Linked DNA regions of Homo sapiens: all the other regions are linked to region 3. The links are contacts of gene promoters, found by promoter capture Hi-C in blood cells and fetal thymus (Javierre and others, 2016). All regions are on one chromosome and are shown on one strand. Each heading gives the region's core, a stretch centred on a gene start or on the middle of the fragment in contact. The rest is flanking DNA. Distances are from core to core; before and after follow the strand shown. Region 1 overlaps SNHG33 (small nucleolar RNA host gene 33). Region 2 has its middle 31 kb from the start of SNORA63E. Region 3 holds the start of YEATS2-AS1 (YEATS2 antisense RNA 1). Region 4 holds the start of ABCF3 (ATP binding cassette subfamily F member 3). Region 5 holds the start of HTR3E (5-hydroxytryptamine receptor 3E).

The links. Contacts are between HindIII fragments. The CHiCAGO score rates a contact against its expected background, and 5 or more counts as called.
Region 1: a fragment that was not itself captured here is called in contact with the fragment with the promoter of YEATS2-AS1 in region 3 in 13 of 17 cell types (megakaryocytes, naive B cells, M1 macrophages and 10 more); the score reaches 11.1 in megakaryocytes.
Region 2: a fragment that was not itself captured here is called in contact with the fragment with the promoter of YEATS2-AS1 in region 3 in 1 of 17 cell types (erythroblasts); the score reaches 5.5 in erythroblasts.
Region 4: a contact is called between the fragment with the promoter of ABCF3 here and the fragment with the promoter of YEATS2-AS1 in region 3, in 11 of 17 cell types (M1 macrophages, erythroblasts, M0 macrophages and 8 more). The highest score is 11.6, in M1 macrophages.
Region 5: a contact is called between the fragment with the promoter of HTR3E here and the fragment with the promoter of YEATS2-AS1 in region 3, in 4 of 17 cell types (M0 macrophages, M1 macrophages, monocytes and 1 more). The highest score is 7.8, in M0 macrophages.

The regions. Positions count from the first base shown.
Region 1 is chr3:183,448,583-183,451,282 of GRCh38, forward strand. The region is part of intron 1 of SNHG33 (small nucleolar RNA host gene 33); the gene reads left to right. Among named protein-coding and RNA genes, the nearest start is that of SNORA63D, 1.9 kb to the right of the region's middle. The HindIII fragment of the contact is 177 bases long and covers 1,320-1,496 here.
Region 2 is chr3:183,483,940-183,486,639 of GRCh38, forward strand. No RefSeq gene overlaps it. Among named protein-coding and RNA genes, the nearest start is that of SNORA63E, 31 kb to the left of the region's middle. The HindIII fragment of the contact is 339 bases long and covers 1,135-1,473 here.
Region 3 is chr3:183,809,171-183,811,870 of GRCh38, forward strand. It overlaps YEATS2-AS1 (YEATS2 antisense RNA 1), which reads right to left and starts at 1,281. Exons shown (of 3, transcript NR_046727.1): 1 at 849-1,281. YEATS2 (YEATS domain containing 2) reads left to right here. Exons shown (of 31, transcript NM_018023.5): 31 at 1,305-2,700. The coding sequence ends at 1,413. RefSeq lists an enhancer at 464-1,663. The HindIII fragment of the contact is 7,253 bases long and covers 1-2,700 here.
Region 4 is chr3:184,184,806-184,187,505 of GRCh38, forward strand. It overlaps ABCF3 (ATP binding cassette subfamily F member 3), which reads left to right and starts at 1,394. Exons shown (of 21, transcript NM_018358.3): 1 at 1,394-1,475; 2 at 1,702-1,849; 3 at 1,991-2,070; 4 at 2,592-2,638. The coding sequence starts at 1,403. RefSeq lists enhancers at 187-901, 1,379-1,698. The HindIII fragment of the contact is 6,180 bases long and covers 1-2,700 here.
Region 5 is chr3:184,095,676-184,098,375 of GRCh38, forward strand. HTR3E (5-hydroxytryptamine receptor 3E) reads left to right here and starts at 1,389. Exons shown (of 9, transcript NM_001256613.2): 1 at 1,389-1,921. The coding sequence starts at 1,855. All of the region lies in intron 2 of HTR3E-AS1 (HTR3E antisense RNA 1), which reads right to left. The HindIII fragment of the contact is 4,461 bases long and covers 1,116-2,700 here.

The DNA.
Region 1 (2,700 bases), core at 158-2,657, 360 kb before region 3:
CACAAGATATTCACTTTTTTGCTCAATCGTGTGCAAAAAGTAGATTCAAAATTGCTAACCCATACCACTGTGTAAAAACAGACCAACTAGCCAGAGTTCAATATTGGTTTACAGTTATGTTTGTCTTTAGTTTCTGTAATTAAAACTGTATTATACAGGTTATGAAGGCAGTCATAGAGGTTTTATGACTATAGAGGTTACAAAGTCTCTATAATTAAGATGTGGAACTAGTGTGTGAATAATATAAAAAGACAAGTAGAATAGAATAGAAAATCCAGAAATAACCCCAAGTGCAGGTAGAAAGTTAAAGATAAAGGTGCTATCACATATCATTGGAGCAGAGTTGGGCTTTGTAATACACAGAGCTGGGCCAACTGGTTGGCCATTTGGAAAAAGATAAAATTAGATCTACACCTTATAGCGTAACAAAAATGAAGTCTAAATGGATCAGGGATCTAAATGTGAAAAATGAAACAATACAAGTACTAAAAAGAAAAAGGCTTTCTAACTATGACTCAAAAAACCATAAGCAATAAAATAAAAAGTTGATAAATTTGACCACATAAAACAAATAGCATGGCAAATACATCATAAAGTCAAAAGACAACTGAAAAAAAAAACTGGATTGGGAGAAAATATCTGTAGCACGTATCACGGGTAAAGGATGAAGATCTTTCATATTTAAATTTGAATTTTAAAACTTTTCCAAATCAATTTTCTCTGTTTACATTCAGCAGTGGCAAAGTGACTTTATCTTTTACATAAGAATATGTCAAAAAAGTAGCAAGTTATACTGCTTTTAAAGATAAGAGTCATCCGTTTAAAAATACTTATTATATCATGTGTCTTAGGGCCCCAAAGGAAACCCTAACACAGGAATTCCTGTGCAAATAATTAGAAAGTTTCCAGGAAAAAATCACAGGGTAATAGAGAAATAGAATAGAAAGGGAAGGAAGGCCAGTGAGCAAGCTGCTCTAAGCCTGTTCCCCTGGAGGTGGCTCAGTGCTGCTTAACTCTAAGTCAGTGTGCATGGTCAATCCCTGGAGTCGTCCTTACCAGAGAACCAGCAGGCTGGTGTGTTTATGTCTCTACCGAGTCATTAGTTAAGGTCTGCCCTCAGGGAGACCTAACTTCCCAGATACTTCGGGTTTTATAAAAATATAAAACATCATACTTAAGACTTAGTATAAAGTTGTCCATTCAGAACCTTCTTTTTAACTATTGTCCCTGTATGCAGGGAGTTTTTGTTTCAAATTAAACAAAAACTAGGGTTGCAGATATGGTTTATAGGACTGTATCTCAACAGACTGACAAACTGAAGCTTTCTTTCTGGGTAGACTGGGATCCATGCCTTTTCTGTTCACTGTTGTCAAGTTTAAATGCAGTGTGCAACATGAAAACCGCAGTGATGTGTTATTAGTTGGGAATCTTTGTCATTTGGGATATCTGCATGCTATCTGTTTTCAGAGCTCACTGCTGTATTAGCTATGAAGTAAAGCTTGTTTTAACAAAGCAATAGGCTTCATTAAGATCAAGGCTGTGTATAAGTCATGGTTTCCTACTGGAAAGATAATTATCTTTAAGGTAAATGATAACCAGTGAATACATATCGGAACAACTTCCCTGGAGATGTCAATGCAGAGCTTATTCCCTGTTTATACATCTTAAACACAGAATAATAATGTAGGAAATGTCTATTTTGATTTTTCCTAGGCCTTTTTTTAGCCAGTGATATTTAGGATATGGGAGGGAAAATAGCCTAATGAAGCAAGTTGCTACACATGAATATCTAGAGGTGATACTAAGACTTTCGAAAAATAGACTTTATTTTATTTTTAAAATGGTTTTAGGTTTCCAGAAAAAAGTTACAGGTTTACAGAGAAGATAGTACAAAGAGTTCCCATATACCTTGCACCCTATTATTCCTGTTATTAACATTTTATGTTAGTATGGTAAATTTGTGGTGTAATTATATTATGGTTATTATGATACCATTTTTTTCTTTTTCTTTTTTCTTTTCTTTTTTTTTTTGAGACGGAGTCTTACTCTGTCACCCAGGCTGGAGTGCAGTGGCATGATCTCAGCTCACTGCAACCTCCACCTCCCGGGTTCAAGTGATCCTCCTGCCTCAGCCTCCCGAGCACCTGGGACTACAGGCGCACACCATCACACCCAGCTAATTTTTGTATTTTTAGTAGACAGTGTTTCACCATATTGGCCAGGCTGGTCTCGAACTCCTGACCTCATGATCCACCTGCCTTGGCCTCCCAAAGTGTTGGGATTACAGGTGTAAGCCACCTCGCCCGACCAGTGTGATACAATTAATGAACCAACATTGATGTGTTATTATGAACTAAGGTCCACAATTTATTCAGGTTTTCTTAGTTTTTATGTAAAGTGCTTTTTCTGTTCCAGAATCTTATCCAGGATACCACATTCCATTTTGCTGTCATGTTTCTTTAGACCCCTCTAGGCTGTGACAGTTTCTCAGATTTTTCGTATTTTTGGTGACCTTGACAGTTTGGAGGAGTATTACTCAGGTATTTTGTAGGATATCTTTCTGTTAGAATTGACTGATGTTTTCCTCTGGATTAGACTTGAATTTGGGGCTTTGGGGAGGAAGACCACAGATATAAAGTGTGATTCTCTTTTTTTTTTTTTTTTTTTTTTTGCGACAGAGTTTTGCTCTTGTTGCCTAGG
Region 2 (2,700 bases), core at 54-2,553, 330 kb before region 3:
ACTACATTTTTACTATGAAAGAATAGAATTTCGGCCAGGCATAGTGGCTCATGTCTGTAATCCCAGCACTTTGGGAGGCCAAGGCAGGCGGAGGCGGATCACCTGAGGCCAGGAGTTCGAGACCAGCCTGACCAACATGGCAAAACCCTGTCTCTACTAAAAATACAAAAATTAGCTGGGCGTAGTGGCAGGTGCCTGTAATCCCCGCTACTCAGGAGGCCGAGGTAGGAGAATTGCTTGAATCCAGGAGGTGGAGGTTGCAGTGAGCTGAGATCTCACCATTGCATTCCGGCCTGGGCGACAGAAAAAAACAAACAAACTCAAAAAAACAAACTAACAAAAAAACTCAAAAAACTCAAAAAAAAACCTCAAAAAACTCAACAAAACAAACAAACTAACAAAAAAACAAAGAACAGAATTTCACCAACAAAAATCCTGTTTATCTAAGGCCAGACTTACAGATTTCTCTGCGCAGTCAGGTTTTCCCTCTGCCTTCTGTGTATTGCCGCTTTGTTAAATCAAGATGATATGGTTTGGCTGTGTCCCCACCCAAATCTCATCTTGAATTGTGGCTCCATAATCCTCAGGTGTCATGGGAGAGACCTGGTGGGAGGTAATTGAATAATGGGGGTAGGTTTTTCCCGTGCTGTTCTCGTGATAGTGAGTAAGTCTCACAAGATCTGATGGTTTTATAAAGGGCAGTTCCCCTGCACAGGCACTCCTTCCTGCTGCCATGTAAGACATGTCTTTGTTCCTCCTTCACCTCCTGCCATGATTGTGAGGCCTCCCCAGCCATGTGGAACTGTGAGTCCATTAAACCTCTTTCCTTTATAAATTACCTAGTCTCGGGTATTTCTTCACAGCATATGAAAATGGACTAATACACCAGGCTTTGCCACCCTCATCTCCCCTCACCCCTGCCCTGTCTGCCCAGGTCAGTGCCCTCCAGCCTTGTACCTTTCAGATATGGGTTGTGACCTGTGACCCATTTAGTGGGTGATGAAATTAATTTGGTGGCTTGTGAACAGCATTTTAAGAAAAAAATAGAATAGGAAATACAGAAAATGTGTTTCTTATTGTGATACATGTTCAAGAAAGTTTGAAAGCACTGCTCTGGCCTGTATGGGTCAAAGAAGCTTTAGTACTATTTTTCTCTTTAGTTGCCTTCAGCAGATTCTAGAAGAAGGGGCTTCGGCACTCCTGGCCTCGCACAGTGGGCCTGTGGTGGATTGTAGAAAATGGTCAGTTCTCTTTTAAAATGCTGCCAACAGCAGCGCAGGTGGTGGGCACACCTGTTCTTTTAACTGTATCTGTTTCATAAGGTAAGTATACCTGGGACACTGAAACTCTCAGTACCAACACTCCACTCATACCCTGCGCTCAGAGACTTCACCAAACCATCGCATGGCTTCTAGCAGCCTGAGGCCACGTCCCTGGGATGGCCCAGCCCCCTTTTGAGTTGCTGTCTGGGAAAGCTTAAGGCTGTCAAAAGAATTGAGTTTGTTCCACCAACATCTGACAACAGGCCCCTGATCTTGCTTTTTTAGAGCATTTACTAAAAAAAGGAGGCTTACCATTGTGAATCCTTCCTCTGTTGCTCTGAGCTACTATGTATGTGTTGCCTACAGCTCAGGGGTGTCTTTCTCAAGGACCTGAAAGCCATTCCCCTCAAGGTAATTATCAGGAAGGAGAGAGGATCCTAGCTTCGAGAACTGCCAGCTAGCAGACACAGCTGGTCTCATCATATTGACTCTGCCCAACACTTTGTCATTTTTCACTTCCCTGACTCTACCTGAACCTGCTCGCTCCACCTCCTGCCTCCCTTATTCTCCCTTTAAAAGGCCCAGTCAGCATCTCTGCACAAATCAGAATAGAGCTCAGCTCTTTCCGCTACTGTCAGCAGTTACTGAATAAAATTTGTTTTCACTGCTTTAACTAATGTCCAGCTTGTTTATTTTTATTTTTAAACCATATACGTACACATGCACACGCGCACACACACACACTTCTTCTCAAGACAAACATTGCTTCTCAGAGATAGCTGATTCTTGTCATCCTCATAATCTAGAGTATCTTCCCTTCCTATGTTTAAGTTATAAGTAAAGTTTTAACTGTTCCAGTCTGGTCTTTGATGTTCCTTAGGAAATTAAATGAAGAGTTGTGTATGGGACTCTTTCCTTACAGGGAAGAGTTGGGGCTATGAGGTCCAAATTTCCGTGCCCACTGGGAGCTTCTCCTTCCACTGCCAAACGTGGAGGAACCAGGATTCGTGTTACAAAGGGAGATTTCCAGTTGTCTTACACATCAAAGGCCACCCCCTTTTCCCTCTACCCAGCTTTAACTTTCCCAAAGAATTTATAAGCAGGAAGTCTCATATTCTCTATCCAGGCAGATGAGTAGAGATGGTTGGGCATGGGTTTCAAGGCAGCGTTTCATGTGGGAATCAATAACAAAGCAGACATCTGAATGTGCAAAGAGAAAAGGAAAATCCCCAGGTGCCAGTAAACAAACATGGAAGTGAAAAACAGAGTGACTGGTAAGCAGCCAGGCCAATGGTGGGGAGACTGGGGAGGGTGGGACTGGACCTGGATTCATCCCCAGCACCAAAGAGTTTTCAACTGTGGCCACATGCAGGAACGGAACATAAGGCATGGGCCTATGGAGGGCGGGAGAGAACTGAGATCCTGTATGAAGGCTGCA
Region 3 (2,700 bases), core at 31-2,530:
GTATTACTATCTCTGCAGTCTGTGGTGTGAGGCTTACACCTCTTTCCTAACAGTTGAATTGCCCATGAAGGTGTTTTATACTTACATCAATCCAGTAGGAGATGGAGTGAGTGCTTAGGACACTCTTAGAGCCAGATGAGCTCAAGGGTCTGCTTTGTCATTTTTAGAGAACCTCATGGTTGTGAAAGCTCACTCAGCTTTGCTCAGAGGTTTATATCCTCCTCATTACTTCACAGACACCTAGGACTCTGTTTTATTACAGGGTTGAATAAATATTAGCTTTGCAATTAAAGATAACAGTGTCCATTACATGTCAGACACGAGGGCCAAGCGTTGCATATATTACCTAATTTGTTTTTCATTGCAGAACTATTATTCTCTTTTTAAAAATCAGGAAACCGGGCTTTGAAAGGTAATTTTACCCAGCTTACCCAGCAAATACAGTGTAGACCTGGACTTCCGACTCAGGTCTCATTGGCTCTGAGGCCCCTGGGCTCGCCACTGCTCTTTGCTGACTCGTTGTCTTTGATTAAGACACTGAGTTTCAGTCTGTTCCTAGGCCCTGAAAGGATGGTAGATAGGCCACATCTGCTTTTCTTTCGGAGGAAACAAATATTATTTTATTGCATTATGCTAAAGGCTGTCACAGATTTATAAAATTGTAGCAAAGTGCCTGAGGACATGAAGGGCCTAAATCAGAGGAATAGTAGATGAAACTTCACAGGAATATATCAGACAACATAGGCGTCTTTAGAGAAAAGGAAGGGGAACCAAGAGTTCCGGTCCTGCTGCCCACTGTCCTGCTTGGACCCACAAGTGAGCCAGGGCCTCCTGTGGCCCCTGCTTACCTCTGTGCTCCCTGTCCTGGAGGGGTAGAGTGACTTAGGTGCTTTTGATGGAACGATTAACATCACGCCTGGCCTGGCGTGGCTCCGTCTCCCGTCTTTCTAGGAGATGGGAAATAAGGTCCCAGAGTTTTGTGGTGCTTTGACTCAGCTTTCGGTCTGCTGAGACTCACTCACAAATGTGTCATTCCGTTCTGCCATCCGCTTTGTTTTCTTTCTCTTTTCTCAGTTCTCAGAATCTTTTTTCCTAATTATTCAACCAACTTGTTGACATCCTTCTCATGCCTATGACAGGAAGGCAGTCCTCACCCCAGAGTGGCCCTAAGCTATGTCTGTGGCTCAGGAGCCCTCTCCACGGGGCCTCTGCCTGGGATGGTCCCTGTGATGAGTTAAGTGAATAAATGATGAGATATACGTGAGAGAATTTCACCTGGTAACACCCTTTGTTTTTTGGACCAGGATTCCCAAAGAAATTACAGTGAGTAATATTCACCAGGCCATTTGCAACATTCCTTTTCTGGACTTCCTCACAAACAAACACATGGGAATATTGAATGAGGACCAGTGAGCGGAGTGAGGTGCCCTGGAGAAGCAGGCTTTGAAGGCACAGCGAAGCTGTAACTGAGGACCCTGCTGCTCGGGAAGGAGGTGGTTTCCAGTGTGACTCGGCATGTCATGGCTACCCAACCTTTGCCGCTGCCTGTTCCCACGTGTCACCAGCACGCTGCACTCCAGATGAAATCCTCCTAGGACAGGAGTTTGTTTCCTGAGTGTGGAGTGAGGCTGTCAGTGGATCCGTGCTTTGTCGGCCAGCGTTTCTGCAGTCTTTGTAAAGGCCCCACGAGAGCGGGCCAGGCCGTGTGCCTCAGGCCCTTCTCCCTGGGTGTGCTTAAGGGGGCTCCTTGGGCCCGCCTCCCCAGGAGGTAGAAAATGAGTGGCAGGCTAGAGATTTCACCCATTTTGTGGGCTGGAGTTACCAGTAGCTCCAGCAGTTACCCTGAAGAGAGATTGGGCTTCAGCCTTCAGCAGGTGGTTCTCTCCCATGCCTGGCCTTGGTGTGGAGGGGCTGTACTCTGAGCCCAAGTGAGTCAGCTATAGGAAGAGGCCATACCTAGAGCCAAGAACCATGAAGGCCTGAGAGACGGCAGACTGAGCAGAATTCCTTTTTTGAGCACGAGAGCATTACTAGAACCATTGTCAAAGCAGTGGCAAGGGACGGAGAGGTCCCAACAGGAGTCAGGAAGAGGTTTGATTATAACCAAGAAAACTCACTATGCTAGGAATAGACTGTGTGCACCAGTCCCAGACACTTGGCAGAAGTGTAGCAGCGTTACACATGTGTGCGAAGCAGATCGCAGGTTCCACGCCATCTGCATGGCCTGCAGGAGCTTCTGCTGCTGACCCCATGCTGAGTGGCCAGTGGGGAGCGGCGCCCGGCAGGCTCTTCTGGGGTCGTCTGTCCTATCCGTGGATTGTATATACTCTTCTCTGTTAAGGAGTTTTTCCCAAGAAGAAAAGTATTTAAAAGAAATACCAGTGAGTGCCTTAAAGTTGGAGAAGTAACTGCCCATGCCCAGAAATAAGGATGCCAGTGCCCAGAAGCAGTGAGATTAGTCTGTGTCCACAAGCAGAGGCCCCCTCGATGGGAGGGAGTGGCAGGCAGGAGAAGGTGGCGCTGCCAGGTGCCCGGGTCTATTGGAGGCGCCCCATCTCAGACTTCCTAACACAGCCTGTGTGGAAGGCAGAACAAAGAATGCATGCCCAGTCAGAAATCTGTTCTATTCTGCTCCAGGAAAATCGGAAACCTGTGAGTCAGAGTCAGAGAAACTTACCCAAGCAACGTAATTCCTGTTTT
Region 4 (2,700 bases), core at 144-2,643, 380 kb after region 3:
GGCTGAGGCAGGAGAATCGCTCGAACCCAGGAGGTGGAGGCTGCGGTGAGCCAAGATCACGCCACTGTACTCCAGCCTGGGCAACAAGAGCGAAACTCCTTCTCAAATTAAAAAAAAAAAAAAAAAGAATATAATGAATCTCCATGTCTCATCACCCAGCTTCAACTATGATCAATGCGTGGCCAGTTCCTTAATATCACATCCAGTTTGTGTTCACTTAACCAGGTGTCTTATCAAATTTTTCCAGATAAGGTCCATTGTGGTTGGTTAATGCTCCTCAAATTTTAAAAATTGATGTTTCCCTTCAGGTCTTGCAATTTTGTGGAAGAAACCAGAGTTCTGTAGTTTACCACATCAGAATTTGCCTGTTGTCCCCATGAAGTCACTTAACATATTCCTCTTTACCTGTATTTCCTGTAAAATGGTTCAATATCGGGATTGATGCCTCATGATGGCAATGTTTAATCCAAAGGGATGAATGGGTAATAATGTAATTTTCGGTGCCACTTTTAGAGACCAATTGGAGGAATATTCACGTTAAATATAAAGCAGTAGCATCATTTTGGAGGAAATTCCTAACTTCCCGAGGGAATCGGTGAAAGGAAATAGCCTTTTATTGGCATTTATTGAGTGCAGAGAAGTCTGCTCAGGGTGTAGGTAGGGAATAATTTATACAGGCCACGTTGTCCTGGTTTTCTTGCCCTTTGGCGGTGGATTTGGTCGTGCCCTGGGGTGGTGGAAGAACTGAATGGGCTTAATTCACAAAGGTCGGCTGAATTACACAGTGAAAAGGCGGTCGCGGCGGGGAGGCGGGTGGCGCTGGCCACCAGGCTGAGAAGCCCGTAGGGTCTGGGGACCCGCGAAAGCAAAGCACTGAGCAGGGGGCTTCTGAGAGTCAGGGACCGGGGTGAGTCAGCAAAGCTCTGGGCAGGCTCCAAAATGGGCCTGACTGGGTACGCACCAGCAGCAGACGCGCCTCGAGGGAGCGCATAAAACCTGGCAAAGCCAAAGTGCTTTATCAGCCGCCTGCCTCTTGGGAGGCTCCCACCCGCCAGACCACGGGTGCCTCGCGGCCCCGATAAACCTTGAGCTCCCAGCCTTTGCCCCACCCCTCGCTCCCGGAACTCCACCTCCCAGAAGGCAGCGAGAACCGCACATGTGGCTAATCTTTCAGCGGAAAAGGTGTCGCGCACGCGCAGAGAGCGCGGCTCCGGCGCAGACTCGGCGCCTCTCCTCAAGGCCCCGCTCGCCCCGCCCACCGGGCTCTGCGCACTCCGCTCCTTTCCTGCGTCACCGCTACACATGCGCCTTGCAAGGAAGGGCGAGATTTCGGGGGCAGGGCGGGGGGCGGGCCTAGGCCGGGGTCTCACAGCGACTGCGCGGACGGGTTCCTGAGTGGAACATGGCGACTTGCGCCGAAATCCTGCGGAGCGAGTTCCCCGAAATTGACGGACAAGTCTTCGACTACGTGACCGGTAAGCAGAACTGAATCGGCCGGCTGGGGAGACCGAAGTGGAGGCCGGGGGAAAGTCTAAGCGAGCGTCGTGCCCGGGACTGTTGCCAGGCCTCTCCTCTGCATGACCTCTTGTCCCGGGGGCTGGTTGGGTCTGGAGCCTGGACTGGGGCCTCTGTCTGGGGTCTGAAACTGCTTGTGTGTCCACCCTACCCGATACCTTCCTCGTTCTACCACGCCCTGCCCAGGCGTCTTGCACAGCGGCAGCGCGGACTTCGAGTCTGTGGATGACCTGGTGGAAGCTGTAGGGGAACTATTGCAAGAGGTGTCCGGGGACAGCAAGGATGACGCGGGCATCAGGGCCGTGTGCCAGCGCATGTACAACACTCTGCGTCTGTATGTGCCAGGGAGTAGGGGTTGATGGGGGCGAAGGGACGGCGAACGGTCCGGAGACAAGAGGTGGGGGAGGAAGATCTGATGGCCATAGAGCTTTTCCCTCAACTCCTAACTCTGCGCTTTCTATCCCTACCCACATAGGGCTGAGCCACAAAGCCAGGGAAATAGCCAGGTGCTACTGGACGCCCCTATCCAGTTGTCAAAGATAACGGAGAACTACGGTGAGAGTGAGGGGAGGTTGAACTAACTGCCCCCCTGTGCTTTTCTCCGCCCCCAACCATCTGCTGCCTGCAGCTTAGGGCTCCTACGTCTTTTCCACAGGACAAGGTTGTAGGAGCTAGTTGATGTCTTTACCGAGGGCAGAAGAGCCCATGATGGGGGTGGGGAGGAGGTTGGAGGGTTCTCCCTCCAAGCTCTTGGGTAGGATAGGAAGCATAAGAGCCTGGAGCTGGACAGACTTGCTTTCACCCCCAGTTTTGCAACTTGCTAACCAGCTGCATGATCTTGTAAGAGTTGGTTATCTGTCCCCAGCCTTGTCTATGCCTCTGTATCCTTCTACGTGAGTTTTGTTTTGTTTTGTTTTGTTTTGTTTTTAGTGCAGGGAAGATAATAGCCATCTATCTGCAGTATTATAAGGTTTTGTAGAAAACATCTGTGTCTGTGCCTGGTTCCTATTAGTCACTCAAAATGTTAGTTTCCCTTCCCTCAGGGAGAAGGTGACTGCTTTTCTTATCGCTTACAGACTGTGGAACCAAACTTCCAGGACTGCTAAAGAGGGAACAGTCCTCGGTGAGGAGGAGGAAGCAAGGGAGGGGACTGTCTGTGATGGGGTTGGGAGTTGACTGTCTAAT
Region 5 (2,700 bases), core at 139-2,638, 290 kb after region 3:
AAAAAACAAAAAAACAAAACCAAAACTCAGTGGGCAGATTAGATGGACAGATTAGACACAGTTGAGGGTCAAGCACAGTGGCTCACTCCTGTAATCCCAGCACTTTGGAAGGCCGAGGTGGGCAGATCAGCTGAGGTGAGGAGTTCAAGACCAGCCTGGACAACATGGTGAAACCCTGTCTCTAATAAAAATACAAAAATTAGCTGGGTGTGGTGGCACAAGCCTGTAGTCCCAACTACTCAGGAGGCTGAGACAGGAGAATCGCTCAAATCAAGGAGGTGGAGGCTGTAGTGAGCCAAGATCACGCCACTGCACTCTAGCCTGGGCAACAGAATGAGACTCCATCTCAAAATAAAATAAAATATGGAAGGCATCCATACTTGCATTTTGCATTCTTCGTATGTAATCATATTGTCAAAGACAAATTATGTCATAATCTATTGTAAATAACACTTTTCCCCAGACCTACCATAAAGTTTCTGCAATGTATTGTCTTCCAGTTGCAATAAAAATTACTGAGTTTCATCAAAAATTAATTAATTAATTAATTAAAATAAACACAGTTGAGGAGAGAATTTTTTTCCTGGAAGCTAGATCTGAAGAAATCATTAGGGACAGAGATAAAGAGGTAGAAAATAGGAAAGAGAGGTGTGCTAGGCAGAATAACGGCCCCCAGAATTTGTCCACATCCTAATCTCTGGAACCTTAGGTTATATGGAAAAGGGGAGTTAAGGTTGCAGATGGAATTAAGGTTGTTAATTATCGGACTTTGAGATGGGGAGACTATCCTGGATTATCCAAATGGACACAATGCAATCACAAAGGCTCTTATAAGTGGAAGAAGGAGAGAGAAACAAATAAGAACCAGAGAGATGAGATGCCTTGTGAGAAACATTGGCCTGATGTTGCTGGTTTTGAAGATGGAGAAGTAAAAATAATGAACCAAGAAATACAGGCAGTTTAAAAGCTGGAAAAGGCCGGGTACAATGGCTCATGTCTATAATCCCAGCACTTTGGGAGATCAAGGTTGGAGGATCACTTGAGGCCAGGAGTTGGAGACAAGCCTAGGCAACAAAGCGAGACCTCATTTCTACTAAAAAAAAAAAAAATAGCCAAGCTTGGTGGCTCACACCTGTGAGGTCCCAGCTACTTGGGAGGCTGAGACGGAAAGATCCCTTGAGCCCAGGAGGTCAAGGCTGCAGTGAGTCGCGATTGCGCCACTGCACTCCAGCCTGGTCAACAGAGTGAAACCCTGTCTCAAAAAAAAAAAAATCTGGAAAAGGCAAGGAAATGGATTCTCCTCTAGAGCCTCCAGAGGGAATGCGGTCCTGCTGACACATTCATTTTAGCCCAGTGAGACCCATTTCAAACTTCTGGCCCACAGAACAGTAAAATAACAAATTGTGTTTATTTAAGCCACTGGGTTTGTGATTTGTTACAACAGCAATAAAAGGCATGTAAGATAGAAGGAAACCATTCAACACATGTCTAATAAGAAAAATAGAGGAAGTGAAACATTTATAAATGTCTGAGAATTTTCCAAAATTGAAGAGATGAGTCTTCAGACCAAGGGATCTCACCAAGATCTGCAAGTTGATCACGTATGAACTATCTATAACCATTTACGTTGCAGTGAAATACCTAAGACTAAGATAAAGTCTTAAAAGCAGACTGAACCTTAAGCATAGGCAAGAACAAGACAACCAGAACACTCTTTGAAGGAAGGTTACAAATGTCAGTGGTCAACCAATGCTATTAGTATTCAAAGTCAGACTCTAGGTGTGGCCTGTGCTGCTTTAATCTGGGCATTCCTGGGTCCCAGTACATGTTCAGAGAAGAACTTAGACAAAGAAGATGGAAGGAAGCTGGTTCCACAGGAAAAGATTTTCCTTCTACCTCCTTCTCGGTTTTCTGCTTCAAGGTAAGAAAGGAGCAATGATGGGGGAAGGCGGAAGAAGGAGGACCTCTCTCTAGTAGAACATCTAGGAACTTTTTTCAAATTTCCAACTCCTAGAGATTGTCTAAGATGGATAGAGTTCTTTCATAGCTACATTACTAAGATGCCCACATAGACTTTCCTTTTCTGAAAGACGGAAAATCCCCTTCCAGTTACATGCCAAACAAGAGCACTTTCATTTTCCTTCTCGAAAAATAGAGTTCAACACCAGCAAACTTTATCCTTTCACATATGGATATCCAGTTTTCCCAATACTACTTGAAAAGTCTGTCTTTTCTCCATTGGTACCCTACATGGAAGACAACCATCCACGATCGTCTTCTCTTGTATTTAGCTTCTATATCCATCCATCTTTCTATCCACAGGTGTAATTCTTTCTCTCTACAGGTATGAAACCCAAACCATTGTAGCAAAGTGCCCACCTCCTTTAGCCATAATTTCCCTGTCCATCTGCTGGATCCAAGGGCTCTAGGTTAGGTAAGGTGCCAGAAGGCAGCAGGTCAAGGGTGAAAGTAGAATGTGCTTCTCTTCCAGGGGGTCAGCATGGTAGAGAGACAAGAACATGGGATTTGGAGACAGGTGGACCTGGGTTTGAATCTTGGTGTCTCACGTTGCTAGTTTTATAAACTTGGATGCACTGCTTAACTTATCTGAGCTCTGGTTTCCTCATCTGTAAAACAGAACCTACCTTGCAGGGTTGTGAGGATTCAGTAAGAGAAGGAGGGAAGCACAGTGTCTGGCAC